2 separate regions of the Homo sapiens genome follow, and region 1 is linked to region 2. The links are contacts of gene promoters, found by promoter capture Hi-C in blood cells and fetal thymus (Javierre and others, 2016). All regions are on one chromosome and are shown on one strand. Each heading gives the region's core, a stretch centred on a gene start or on the middle of the fragment in contact. The rest is flanking DNA. Distances are from core to core; before and after follow the strand shown.

The links. The method cuts DNA at HindIII sites, captures the fragments that hold promoters and counts their contacts. A CHiCAGO score of 5 or more calls a contact.
Region 1: a contact is called between a fragment that was not itself captured here and the fragment with the promoter of TBCEL in region 2, in 1 of 17 cell types (megakaryocytes). The highest score is 5.8, in megakaryocytes.

Annotation. Positions count from the first base shown.
Region 1 is chr11:121,190,255-121,196,914 of GRCh38, reverse strand. It overlaps TBCEL-TECTA (TBCEL-TECTA readthrough), which reads right to left. Exons shown (of 30, transcript NM_001378761.1): 30 at 5,425-6,209. The coding sequence ends at 6,109. TECTA (tectorin alpha) reads right to left here. Exons shown (of 24, transcript NM_005422.4): 24 at 5,425-6,209. The coding sequence ends at 6,109. Among named protein-coding and RNA genes, the nearest start is that of TECTA, 92 kb to the right of the region's middle. The HindIII fragment of the contact is 976 bases long and covers 2,741-3,716 here.
Region 2 is chr11:121,021,795-121,028,541 of GRCh38, reverse strand. TBCEL (tubulin folding cofactor E like) reads right to left here and starts at 4,440. Exons shown (of 9, transcript NM_001363644.2): 1 at 4,251-4,440. It overlaps TBCEL-TECTA (TBCEL-TECTA readthrough), which reads right to left and starts at 4,440. Exons shown (of 30, transcript NM_001378761.1): 1 at 4,251-4,440. RefSeq lists silencers at 4,187-4,456, 4,477-4,626. The HindIII fragment of the contact is 3,156 bases long and covers 2,863-6,018 here.

The sequences.
Region 1 (6,660 bases), core at 1,979-4,478, 170 kb before region 2:
TTGTATGATGGAGACATGTTTTCCTGTGATTTAGGCAGCCTGTGTTTTCAGGGAAATTTGTCTAAACAAGATACAAATGTCAACTTAGTTTTGGGGTTCTACTTAAAATTAACTAATGAAAGTAATTTTGTATCAACATGACCAGGTTGAGAATACAAATAGAACAGGCTAACAACAGGAGACATGAATAAAATCCATAGTGGCCAAGTATCTCTAGACTCACTACATTCCTGCTAATCTTAAATTAATATTCAGAATACTTCCACTCTTCTTCTCTCTTGGAGATTCAAAGTAAGCATTTCAAATATGGGGCTTTTTTAGGGGGAAAAAATTGGGTTATGTGCTATCCACAGCCCTTTTTCTCATTTTATGCTTTGAATATTCTGATATGACACCTAGATGCTTCTGCATTATATGTTAAGTCATTTTCCCCTTGTCGAATTAGTTTGCCAAATTGCTTTCTGATCGTGACTTTTCAGGAGAGCAGACTCCGTCCCCTGCACGGCTGCAGATATTCCTTAACAGCATTTTGCAGTCATCAACGTAGAGACTCATGGAAAGTGTGAATAAATACACACTTGTAACTTCTTGATTTGAATGACCCACCTAGTTATATAAACCACATTTAAGGACCAGGATGGCCTGTTAAATTAAGAATGTTTTTGGCAGATAAAAGGGAAATACTAGGAACCTTGTTTTTTCTGCCTTTGGTTAACATATAATTAACTCAGTAACAAATTTCTATGTGCCTACAGTCTTGAAATTTAAATAATTCCACTAATACTAGGTTGATCCAACGCAAAGGTTTTCAAGCCTTAAAGTAATTAAATGTTATCTTTTTCAGTAAAATAATGTATTTTTGCCCAATTAAAATAGGGCAATATCGGTGGATTTTTGTACCCTAAAGTATTCCACAAAGGAATTCAAAAGTTAGGGGGAGAAAATAAAGAATTCTAAGTTTGTTTGTTCTTAAAAGGCTCAAAAGGTCACTATCATTCTAATATGTCTCATTAGAAGTTAAAAATTATTAAATAAACCTACACATAAAAGCATACATATATGAGTAGGTTTATGTTCTTCTTTAGTTAGTACTTTTGGATATATATAACTTCAACTTAGTACTTTTCCTCTAATTTCTCTGTCAGAATGCAGCATGATCTAGGACTGAACAATATTAAATACAGTGGCAAAGCATTTGTTATGAAAGATGCTACATTTGTGTAAGGGATTGTTATTTCGTCCAATAGGAGACTATCTTAATTTCAAAATTATTTCACCATCAGTATCTTATGCTACTGAACAAAACAACAGCTAACCTAGAGGCTAGATGCAAACAGAAACACACAACGAAATGTACAGTGAACATTCTTCCTCCATTTGTTTCCTTAGCAAATAGAATTTGATTGCTGAGTTCTTCATGGAATGATGAGTCTTTTGTATTTTATTTCTATCTATAGACACAGAGATCTGTCCCTCTGCCATGGAGATGTTGTCTTATATGAGAGTCGTATTTCAGCAAACATAATTAAACCATCACAAACAGAGCCTTCCATTAGTCAGAACAGAGTTATTGCCGTTGTGCTGTAGGTGCATGTGAAAGTATTTCACATTCTGCTGGGGGGAAAAGACCACTAAATATTGCATGGGTTTTTCTTGATCAGATTGTTTATTTCTCAACATCTTAAAGAGGTACTTAATTTTTCTTGACAGCTATTTTTGTCAACACATTAGAGAAACGGATATTAAGGGCAAAATTTGCATGGGATGCCAAGTGCTGGTATTTCCTGGAGTAATGCGTACGGTATGCATAAAAATAAATCCCATACTGTTCTCCAGAAAACGTCCTTGGCATTTGATGTGTTTTCTAAAGCTATATTCTCATAATGTCCTGCGTCTAAGGTTTCAGGGTGGTAGTGGGGCGGGGGACCGGAATCATAATTCGATTGGTGTGGTTCAATACACATTTGAGCTTCATGCAAAAATAAACAGCAGACACTAGAGGGCGCTGTTTCATTTCCTTTTTCACTGGACTGTGCTGCAGATGTCAGCGTATGGGGCACTGCAAAATATCATCATGGTCTTCTAAACAGGCCCAAATTGCAATGAAGTACAAGCTGTAGAGATCCCCTGAGTTTTAGGAGAAAGGCTGGGAAGTTCAAAACAGGGTGGATGGTAAATTAATTCAGAATTAGTAAAGAAGTAATTTTTTATTACCCTAGCCCTTCATGATTGTCTTTTGATAATTACTTAATTCCTCTGGTTGAAAGAAATTTTATTAGATTTCAAGCTCCCACTAAATGTCAAATGGTTCTAAAAATAGCTAGAATATTAGACAATGTTAAACAATTAGCGCTCTCAAGTTTTGTCGTTAGAATTTTGAGTAGAATACATACCTACTACTGGTTGAGAAACTAATTACAGAATTCCCAGTGGTCACAAATGTCAGACCCCAAGATGTTTCTTTTGATATCAAACAAATACCAAGTCAATAAGATTCCCAATTAACTTCGTTTTCAACCTTTGCTAAGCATGCACTTTCTCACCCCTTCACCCCGCAAGTAAATCTTTTAGAGCAGCAGGAAAAGGCAATGCTCTGAAGTTATCTTAACATATACTATCATATGGCTTCTCTTTGTAAAAAGAGAAGGGATTGGGTTCGAGGGGGTAGGAGAGTGGGTGGGGTTCCCCAGTTCAAGTGTCTAGTGCCACTTTGTGACATAAGAACATATGAAAAGAAGCTTCATGTTCTTATGTTACCTAGAGGAAAATTAAGGTATTGAGGCATGTAATAATTTGTGTTTCAAGTAGAGAATTAGTGGAAGAGTCAGGATCATCTCTCAGTTCTTCTGCCTTCCAGGAAGTCAACTAAAGGGCCCGTTTGTTTTCAGTTCTGTAGAAGTATTTCTCTTTAATCCAGATAGAAGTGACGGACTCAAAGGCAATGTGAGCACCATCACCACTGATTTCCAGTTCTTCTGCCTTCCAGGCACACGGGATGTTTGTGCTTCCTCATCTCTAAAAGTCAGTTACAGCCATCTGGCTGTCATTGACCAATGAAGTGGGAACAGAAGCGATATGTGTCACTTCAGGCAGAAGCACGGAAGAGCTACGGTGGGATTCTCCAGGCTGTCTTCCCTTGCAAAGGTGAATCTTGAAGCCACACATTGAGCTGACAACATTGAAGGATAATAAAGCCTCCAGCAACTTCCATTCCAGGATGACAATGAAAGCAGGGGCGACTTGTGTGAGTAAGAAAGAAACCTTTGTTAAGTCACTGAGATTGTGGGGGTGTTCTCCTTTTTTGAGACAAAAATCTCATTCTGTTGTCCAGGCTGGATTGCAGTGCCATGATCATGGCTCACTGCAGCCTCAACCGCCCAGGCTCAAGCGATCCTCCCAACTGAGCCTCCCAAGTAGCTGAGACTACAGGCATGCGCCACCACCCCTGGCTAATTTTTGTATTTTTTTTGTGGAGATGGGCTCTCACTATGTTGCTCAGGCTAGTCTCAATATCCTGGGCTCAGGTGATCTGTCTGCCTGGGTCTCCCAAAGTGCCGGAATTATAGGTATAAGCCACCACACCTGGCCTGGGGTTTTCTGTTGTGGCATTACAACCAGGTTTATCTTGATGGTAGACATGTGAAGGATGCCAACCAAGTGAGAAAACCAAAAGCCAAGAATGAAAGTGTGGCAAAAAGGATTTCAAGTAAAAAGCTTTAAGAAAAAAAACTAGAATTTTTAATCGAGGAATTTCTAATGACTTTAATATGGGAATCAATAAAGAGGTGTTGTCAAGTAAGTAATACACCATTTCCTCCTTGTATGTTTTCAGTTAAAATTCATCTAAAAAGGCAGGTGTGTTGGCTCACGCCCATAATCCCAGCACTTTAGGAGGCCAAGGTGAGTGGGTTGCCTGAGCCCGGGAGTTCGAGACCAGCCTGGGCAACATGGTAAAACCTCATCTCTACTAAAAATATAAAAAATTAGCTGGGCATGGTGGTGCATGCCTGTAGTCCCAGCTACTAAGAAGGTTGAAGTAGTAGGATCACTTGAGCACAGAAAGTCGAGGCTGCAATGAGCCAAGATCATGCTAATAGACTCCAGCCTTGGCAACAGGAGTGAGACCCTGTCTCAGGGGAAAAAAAAAAATCATCTAAGGATCTCAGGTAAAACCATAAATGACACATTATTATATTTAGCTCATAATCTGTTTGATTTCAAAAGCCTAAACCTTTAATGGCATGAATGGAAATGGTGCATAAGCTCATCTGAATCCTCTGATCTTGAAGTATGGGATAGTATGGAATCCAGGTTTTCATGCAAACAAAGAACACACACTTAGAGCAGGCGCAGTGGCTCATGCCTGTAATCCCAGCACTTTGGGAGGCCGAGGCAGGCAGATTGCGAAGTCAGGAGATTGAGACCATCCTGGCTAACATGGTGAAACCCCGTCTCTACTAAAAAAATACAAAACATTAGCGGGGCATGGTGGCGGGTGCCTGTAGTCCCAGCTATTCTGGGAGGCTGAGGCAGGAGAATGGCGTGAATCTGGGAGGCAGAGCTTGCAGTGAGCCAAGATCGTGCCACTGCACTCCAGCCTGGGCGATAGAGCCAGACTCCGTCTCAAAAAAAAAAAGATCACACACCTAACATCCATTTCTATCTTGCTGAGGACGAAGTACTGTGTCTCAGCTAGAATAGACAATGGCTTGACTCCTTAATCCATCTCAGTGCTCAGCATTTCCCCAAAAGATCTTAAGATGTCCAAGCAGAAGCAGACACATATTTTTCTCCATCAATACCAGTTGTCCGCTCAGCTGCACAGCATGTGTGACTGCTGAGATAAGCTCGAATGTGTTGACTCTCCCAGGGGGCTGGGAGAACAAAACAGCTCAGTGCACACTCAGTCTACACCGCACTTCTTCAGCCCAGTGACAGTGTGATGCCAGTGCTTTGACATATGAGACAATGGCCATTTCACTCACACTCATGTTCAAAGAACACTAAGCATTTTTGCTCAGCTTTTCAGCGTTCCCAGAAAAATATAAAAATGCTATCCGTTTAAATCCAAGACAACTTCAAAATAAACCTGAAGTGGGTTTTACTTTGTTTTTGCCCTTAGAAAGCAAAGCACTCCAGGGATATATTTAGCAGGCCTTCCATTTTGTAGTTAATTATAGCAGATACGTGTTTTTGTACCACTTACAAAAGAGGATGCTGCCTGCTTCTCTTCTACACCGAACCTTAATGCTCTGCTAATGCTCTGTAAGTACACATGAACAACAATATAATGGTGCATTAATGTTCTGGCCAACAGTGCCTTCCTGGTCCAATTGCTGCTACTTCTTTAAAAAAAAAATTCATGGCATGCTATTTAGTGTACAAAGCTTAACATCAATAAGAATGATTCCAGCCACCAAGTAATGAGAATACTTGAACACAAAGTTTATTTAAGGATAAAACACATTAAAAAGTATTTGGTTGATTTGTAAAAAGAGAAGGGATTGGGTTCGAGGGGGTAGGAGAGTGGGTGGGGTTCCCCAGGTCAACAATATCCCCAGTGGCCAAAGCTGCCATGGCAAGGTTGAAGGACACAGTGGGTGGAGAAGCGCCTCATAGACAGAACACGTGCATAACGTAGATCGGACACTTCCAAACACCAGCAAGATTCCTTAGAGGGAGTCAAACCTTCCAGTCATCACTTCAAAATCGTTCCAACAGGCCCTCTCTCTGTAAAAAACTGTGATCCAGAAATAGCACTGGCTTGACAGATTTCTCTGGTCAGATTTCCAGTCAGATTTCTCTAACCAGAATTTTTTTCCTTTACTGGTTTTTCATGTGAACCAAAGTCTCTAGTGACAACTGTTTGGGAATTTTACACAAGAGAGATACTTTCCATAACTGGCTTGTAGAAGCCCCGTTTCATACTCTGAAAGAGGAGCTTGGATGGTCGCTGGTTTCTGGACCTTGGACCATTGGAGGCAGGTGGCATCATTTTGAGATGCTGGACACTTTCAAATAGGTTTTGACTTAAGGGCACACACTTTTTATCCTACAGGGTGTTGAAGTAAGTAAATTACAGTACTTTATATAGCAACCTTGAGTTAATTATGAGGTCGTGCCTGATTTATAGACAAAATGCCATAATGAAATCTGGATCATGATGAGAAGAAGCGTCCAGACTTGAAGTTCCATTGAAGAATTAGAGGCTGTAAACAGAGAGGAACACAGTAAGCCCTATGGGGGGAAAAATACCTGTTTGATAGGGATCAGACATCTTTGCAGCACTCAGCTAAAGAAAGGAAACTTCATTGCCAAGAACCCATTTTACCTAAATGGCCCTAAGGCAGCAAAGTAGCAGAATTAATCCAATCTTAAGAGAGTCCTACTTTGGGAGGCCAACACAGGCGGATCATGAGGTCAGGAGTTTGAGACCAGCCTGGCCAATATGGTGAAACCCCATCTCTACTAAAAATACAAAAATTAGCTGGGCGTGGTGGCGTGTGCCTGTAGTCCCAGTTACTCCGGTGGTTGAGGCAGGAGAATCGCTTGAACCCGGGAGGCAGAGGTTGCAGTGAGCCAAGATCATGCCACTGCACTCCAGTCTGGGCAACAGAGCGAGACTCCATCTCAAAAAGGAAGAGAGTCCTGCCAACCTTG
Region 2 (6,747 bases), core at 3,191-5,690:
AAACTGAAGCAGAGAGGTTACGGGCCCAGAGCTAGTGACAGAGCCAGGACTCAAATCTAGGCTGACTTCAAGGCCCTAAAATTAAACCAGTTTGCTGAATTATGATATTGCTCAGTTCATTAACATCACTTGCTGAAAAGTTATTTGAGTACCTACTGTAATTTAAAGCATCAGGCTAGGTCAGTGACTTTTAACTTTTACTGTATGGAAGAATCATCCAGACAGCTTGATAAAATGCAGATTCCTAGATTCCACCAGAGATTCTGATTCAGTAAGTCTAGGTCAGAATTCAGGGATCTGCTTTATTTTATTTTATTTTATTTATTTATTTATTTTTTTAAACAGTGCCTCACTCTTCTTGCCCAGGCTGGAGTGCAATGGTGTAATCATAGCTCACTGAAGCCTCAACCTCTGAGGCTCGTGATCCTCTGGCCTCAGCCTCTCAAGTAGCTGGGACTACAGGCATATACCACTATGCCTGGCTAATTTTTTAATTTTTCATAGAGATGGGTCTCCCTACGTTGCCCAGGTTGGCTTTGACTCCTGGATTCAAGCGATCCTCCTACCTCGGCCTCCCAAAGTGCTGGGATTACAGGTGTGAGCCACAATGCCTTGCCGGATCTGCATTTTTAACCATACGTTCAGTCAATTCTGATCTACTTGGTCTATGAACTACGCCCTGGTAGACCCTGTGCTAGATGTCCTAGTTTTTCATGGATATTTGAGCCTCCTGTTCACCACGCATTTATAATCTAAAAGGGATAAAAATAAGGTGCACAAATAATACAAAGCAATATAGCAAAGGCAGTACAGACAACATAAGCAACAAAGACTTCAAAGAAGAGGGGTCATCTGAAATGAAATGAGAGTGAGTAGGATTTCATGAAGAAAGGGAACATTTTATATGCAGACTTTCAGGGATAATTTTACACACAAAGGAAGGTACATGAGCAGAGGCCTTGGCAGGTAGAGGAACTGCATTTAGGAGTGTAATGATGATGCCAGAAAAAAAGTAGAGGAAGTCTGTAGAAGGCCCTAAATATCAAGCTAAACACCATGGGCTTTATTCAGTGCCTGTACTGGAAAGCAGCTAATGGTTTTTGAGGAGGGAAATGAAATAATCATAGCAATATCCTTTGGAAGAGTTCTCTCATGAAGCTATGCAAGCAAAAGACAATGGGAACAGTCCAGTTATTACCATTCTAATTCCAAAGAAGTAAGTCAGAATGGGTAGCATGAAAAAGGGAGGAATAGTAAATCTCAATAACTAATCACGTGTAGGAGAAAGGCAACAATCGCAAATAAGGATTCCTTCACCCTTTAAGCCCAAATTGTATCACTATCAGTTTCACATTACTTCTTATACAGCTAACCAGGCCCAAAATATATAAAGAGTTCACTTATTTAAAACACAGCCCAGGACTAAGTAAACTGGTCTCTAAGTAGCCAACATACATGTCACACAGTTCACACACTAAGAAAAGGAAAAAAAAGTATTATATAACAAATATAAATATCTGATTTTCAAAACCATAGTAGTTTGGAGGCAAAAATTAGAAGGAGAAAAGAGCCTGCTACAGGTGGACAGGCTTAAGAGTCTAAGGATCAGAGAAGAAACAAAAACTATTAAAAAGCACACACAATCACTCAGGGTCACTTCTCCGTAACTGTTTATTGACAAGTACATATGATTCCCAGAAAAATGAAATAAATAAGAATCTTCCTTAATGTTCCAGGCACCTACAAAACAAAATCTTCTTTAAACATTCATTAAAGCTAAATATTTTAAAACAAATATTTCCCTGATTAAGAGGTCATTTTTAAAGGATGGCTGATATATGCCAGCATAACGCCTCTATCAGTACCTAATAAATAATTAAAGGCAAGAAAGATTTATAACACACAAAGTTCAAAGATGATAGAATGTTTTCGTAAAGCATTTGATCAAGAATGTGGCCCCACTGATGAAGTTTTAACTTGGGTACTTCTGTCCTGATGACCGTGTCTTTGAATTCTATGTTACAAATAATACGAACTCATCCTCAAAAAAAGAAACGCTATTAAACTGGTCTTAAATACATACCCTGTGTACCTACTGAAATTAGACAACATCCTTTGACACTCAATGTCCTGCAGCAATAGGCTATGTAACAACTTTTCAAAGGACTTTAACATTACAACATTTAACATTACATGAAGGACTCTCACTTTGTTCACCAACAGTCATTAATGTTTATTATGAATTAATACTATTTTTCTAAGGACCCCACCTAAAATTTTTGTAAGGGGAATTAAGATGTTAACTGATTGAAAGTTATACTTAGGTTTATGATTAAGTTTATATACCAAAGCCGTAGACTGTAAGGCTTTTAAATATGTCTATGGCTTTGGTATATATTTTATCGTGTATTTTTCATATATTTTTCATCATGTAGCAAAAAGTATATCATAATAATTACTGCAGTAAGAAGAATTTGGGATGTTTTTAAATAGCAGAAAAGAAAATCAGTGTATCTTCACAACATTGGAACAGTAAAATAAAATTTCTTTAACTATGTTGTGATAAAGCAACTAAGTGGAACTAGGCCTCTCATATTTCTCAGACACAGCAAAGGATAAAGGAAACTAAAACACACACGCATACAAAAAATTTCATCAATCAAATGATCAGGCAACATCAAGATATTAAAGATCAAGATTATGGTCCTTCAGAAAACACAGGTCAAATATGCTACGTGGTATAAACATCTAAACCGAAGCAATCAATTGCACCTAGCTGCCCTCCTCCCTCTCCCCCGGCCAAAATAAAATAAAAAAAAAAAAAATCCATCTCCTTAGAATCATCCCTGCTCTTTAGAAGCTTACAGAATGAGGACACTGATTGACACCAAATAAATGTGCTTCAGAAACAGTGTTTTTCAAACTGCAAGTTGTGACCCACAAATCATCAATTTAGTAAATGTCAGCCAGCATTTTTTTTAATGCAAGAGGGTGGAATATAATAGAAATTAGCAGAACATATCACATATAATAAGGGTAAATACTGCTTTGTGAAAGTTTCCCTTCATACCTACGTATGTACTAGATCTGAATGTAAGACATACTTATTACTGTGGGGCATAATTTTTTTTTTTTTAAGTTTGAAAGCTACCACCCTAGAGATCTGGGTCTAATGCATCTCAGGACCCAAAGAGTGAATGTTTTCCTTAGTCCTCAGCACCTATTCATACTCTTTGCTCAAGATAGACTACTGGAAACGTAAGAGCTCCACAGCAGCATGACATGAACAAGGGACAAGCCCCAGCTCAGCCTGTATTTGGACTTGAAAGCATTACCAACTTCTCTCAACAGCCCTAGGCGTTGCCTACAAGCTCTTTGTAGCCTAGCAACCTTCACAGTAGAGCTCCTCCTTTCTCCACTGACTGTATACAGTTCAACACTTCCAACCAACTTTCCTCAACTACAACTTCTGGAATCACTGTGTCCCAAGAAAAGACTATTAAATCTCCTCTCTTCACCAATTCCCAGAATGTCTTCCTACTAGCGGACCTAGAACTCAACAGAGAAGCTCCACACAGATCCTTACTTCCCCCAAGATCCCACGACAAGGCACCCGCCTGTCAGTCCAACACCCTCGTTCTCAGTCTCCCAACCTTGGGGCAAATCTTTTCTCCCAAAAGCCCTTATTCAATTACCACATCCACATCCTTTTATCAGCCCCTGGTAAGAGCAGGCCTAATGTCCCAAGGGCCTAGACATGCCCGTCCTTCCCCCAGCAAACCTCCCTGGGGACATGTCCTCTTTTCTGGGATTCAGTAGTTCAGAGACAAGTTTCCTATTTCCCCAGCAGTCCCAGACACGTCTCCCTCTTCTAACAGCTGGGAGGCATCTACCCATCCCCCACGCTGGGGCAAGGTGAGACGCCTAGATTCTCCCAGGAACCCGGGCAGGCTCCCCAACACGCCCTCCTCCAACCCGGGACCAGTCCCCCAGCCCAGCCCAGCCCAGCCCAGCCCAAGACCCTCCCAGCTCCGCCATAGCCCAGGCCAGGCAGGCCCCATCCTCCCTCTAGCCCCAGGGCAGGTCTCCCATCCCCACAGCTGCTCGAGACAGGCCCCATGTGGCTTTCACCCTTCCCCGAGTGTCCTATCCCAGCACCCTGCAGGAGCGACCCTCCGCGCCTCGGCTCCAGAGGGGAACGCCTCGGGCCTCGAGAGCCCGGCAGAGCCAGCGGGCCCGGCTCCACTCACCCCTCAGCCCGGGAGGCGGGGGAGCTACTGCGGCGGCTCCTCTGGCTGCGCCTCTCCTCCCCCCTCCCGGCCACCGCTGTCGCCGCCGCTCAGCCTCGGGCCTGGTCCCGGCCAGCCCCGGCCCGGCGCCGCTTCACCTAGTCCCCCACTCTGGCCGCCGGAGCCCAGTGTCCTGCATTGACCCGGAAGCAGCTTTCCCGGCCCAACAACAACACGTGACCCCGCCGCACGTGTCACGTCCGCTGCGTGAATGGGAGGGGGCGCCGGAGGAGCGGGTCCTCCCCAACCGCGCTGGGGTTGCCATGGCGACGGGGATGGCTGCACTGGCTTAGGCTTTACCACAAACACCTCATCTGCTCTTTCTCGTGCCCACCCATTGAGTGGACAATCCCCAGGGGCAGAACAGGAGTACACATTGTCATATCAGAGGACAATAGGGGCTGCAGAAAAGAGCATTGGGCTGAACCTTTCCAGAAACACTTGGAATCTTGGCCTGGCTCTGTTACTGATTTGCTGTGTGACCTTGACCAAGTCTCTTCCTATCTCTGGCTTCAGTGTCCTCAACCATAAAATGAGGGAACTATACTAGATGAGCCCTCAGGGTATGGTGGCAGTCTGACCTTTCTTCTGTGCCCCCTTCACAAGTGGCATCCCGAGCTTCCAACACCAATGTAGTAACAGCAGCTTTCATTTATTGAGCACTTTCTAGGTACAGGCACTGCGCATGTGCTATTTTTAATTTTTACAGCCCTCCAAAGAGATGGTATTTATAGAATTGAAAACAAGTTCAGAGTGCTTAAGTGATCTGCCCAAGACCACCCAGTTAGTAAATGTGACCAGGGTGAGATTTGAATCCAGGTCAGGCTGGCACCAGGGTCCATGCACTTCACTTTATGCCACGCTATTGCTCCAACTCCATGCATAGTATTACTATATCTGACTGTTGAGCTGTGATTGCTTATGTACTCCTTCGTCCATTTCTTTTGCAGAAACATACATGGAATAGGCGTGGTGCTGGCTCAACCCCAAGTGAATTCAGCCTTGTATGGGAATGTCCCCTGAAGTGCTAGGAGATGAAGATGTCTTTGTGCATAAAGTGTATGTGCTTCTGTGTGGTGTGTGCCAGAAAAGACGTGGGGGATGTAATGTGCATGTGCATGTCTGCATTGGTTTCTAGAAGGGGGAAACAAAATTATTTAGGACAGACCCAATAGCACCTTACCATCATCAGTTCCTGGAGACTTATTTTTGTCATTCTGTTTTGTTTTCTCATATCCCATAGGTAGGGTTAGACAGGGTAGAGAGGAAAAAAAAAAGCCAGAAGGTCATGGGTAAAGAAACTGCTCTGAGTATAAAGGGGATGATTAGCCAAGAATTGTATCTTAGGTTGCTCAGGAAGGGGCTTTACTCCCCCTTCCACAGAGAACAGAGTGCCTTTCTTGGCAATTTAAGAATTACTGGCTTTCAGAGCACTGAGATCATTAGCATTGTGTCCGGAATTGGTGGGTTCTTGGTCTCACTGACTTCAAGAATGAAGCCGCGGACCCTCGCGGTGAATGCTACAGCTCTTAAGGTGGCGCGTCTGGAGTTTCTTCCTTCTGATGTTCGGATGCGTCCGGAGTTTCTTCCTTCTGGTGGGTTAGTGGTCTCGCTGGCTCCGGAGTGAAGCTGCAGACCTTCGCGGTGAGTGTTACAGCTCATAAAAGCAGTGTGGACCCAAAGAGTGAGCAGTACTAAGATTTATTGAAAAGAGCAAAAGAACAAAGCTTCCACAGTGTGGAAAGGGACCCGAGCGGGTTGCCACTGCTGGCTCGGGCAGCCTGCTTTTATTCTCTTATCTGGCCCCACCCGCATCCTGCTGATTGGTAGAGCCGAGTGGTCTGTTTTGACAGGGCGCTGATTGGTGCATTTACAATCCCTGAGCTAGACAAAAGGTTCTCCACCTCCCCACCAGATTAGCTAGATACAGAGTGTCCACACAAAGGTTCTCCAAGTCCCCACCAGAGTAGCTAGATACAGAGTGTCCATTGGTGCATTCACAAATCCTGAGCTAGACACAGGGTGCTGATTGGTGTGTTTGCAAACCTTGAGCTAGATACAGAGTGCCGATTGGTGTATTTACAATCCCTGAGCTAGACATAAAAGTTGTACACGTCCCTACCAGACTCAAGAGCCCAACTGGCTTCACCCAGTGGATCCCGCACCGGGGCTGCAGGTGGAGCTGCCTGCCAGTCCCGCGCCGTGCGCCCGCACTCCTCAGCCCTTGGGTGGTGGAAGTGACTGGGCGCCGTGGAGCAGGGGGCGGCGCTCATCGGGGAGGCTCGGGTCGCACGGGAGCCCATGGAGGGGGTGGGAGGCTCAGGCACGGCGGGCTGCAGGTCCCGAGCCCTGCCCCGCGGGAAGGCAGCTAAGGCCCGGTGAGAACTCGAGCGCAGCGCCGGTGGGCTGGCACTGCCGGGGGACCCAGTACACCCTCTGCAGCCGCTGGCCCGGGTGC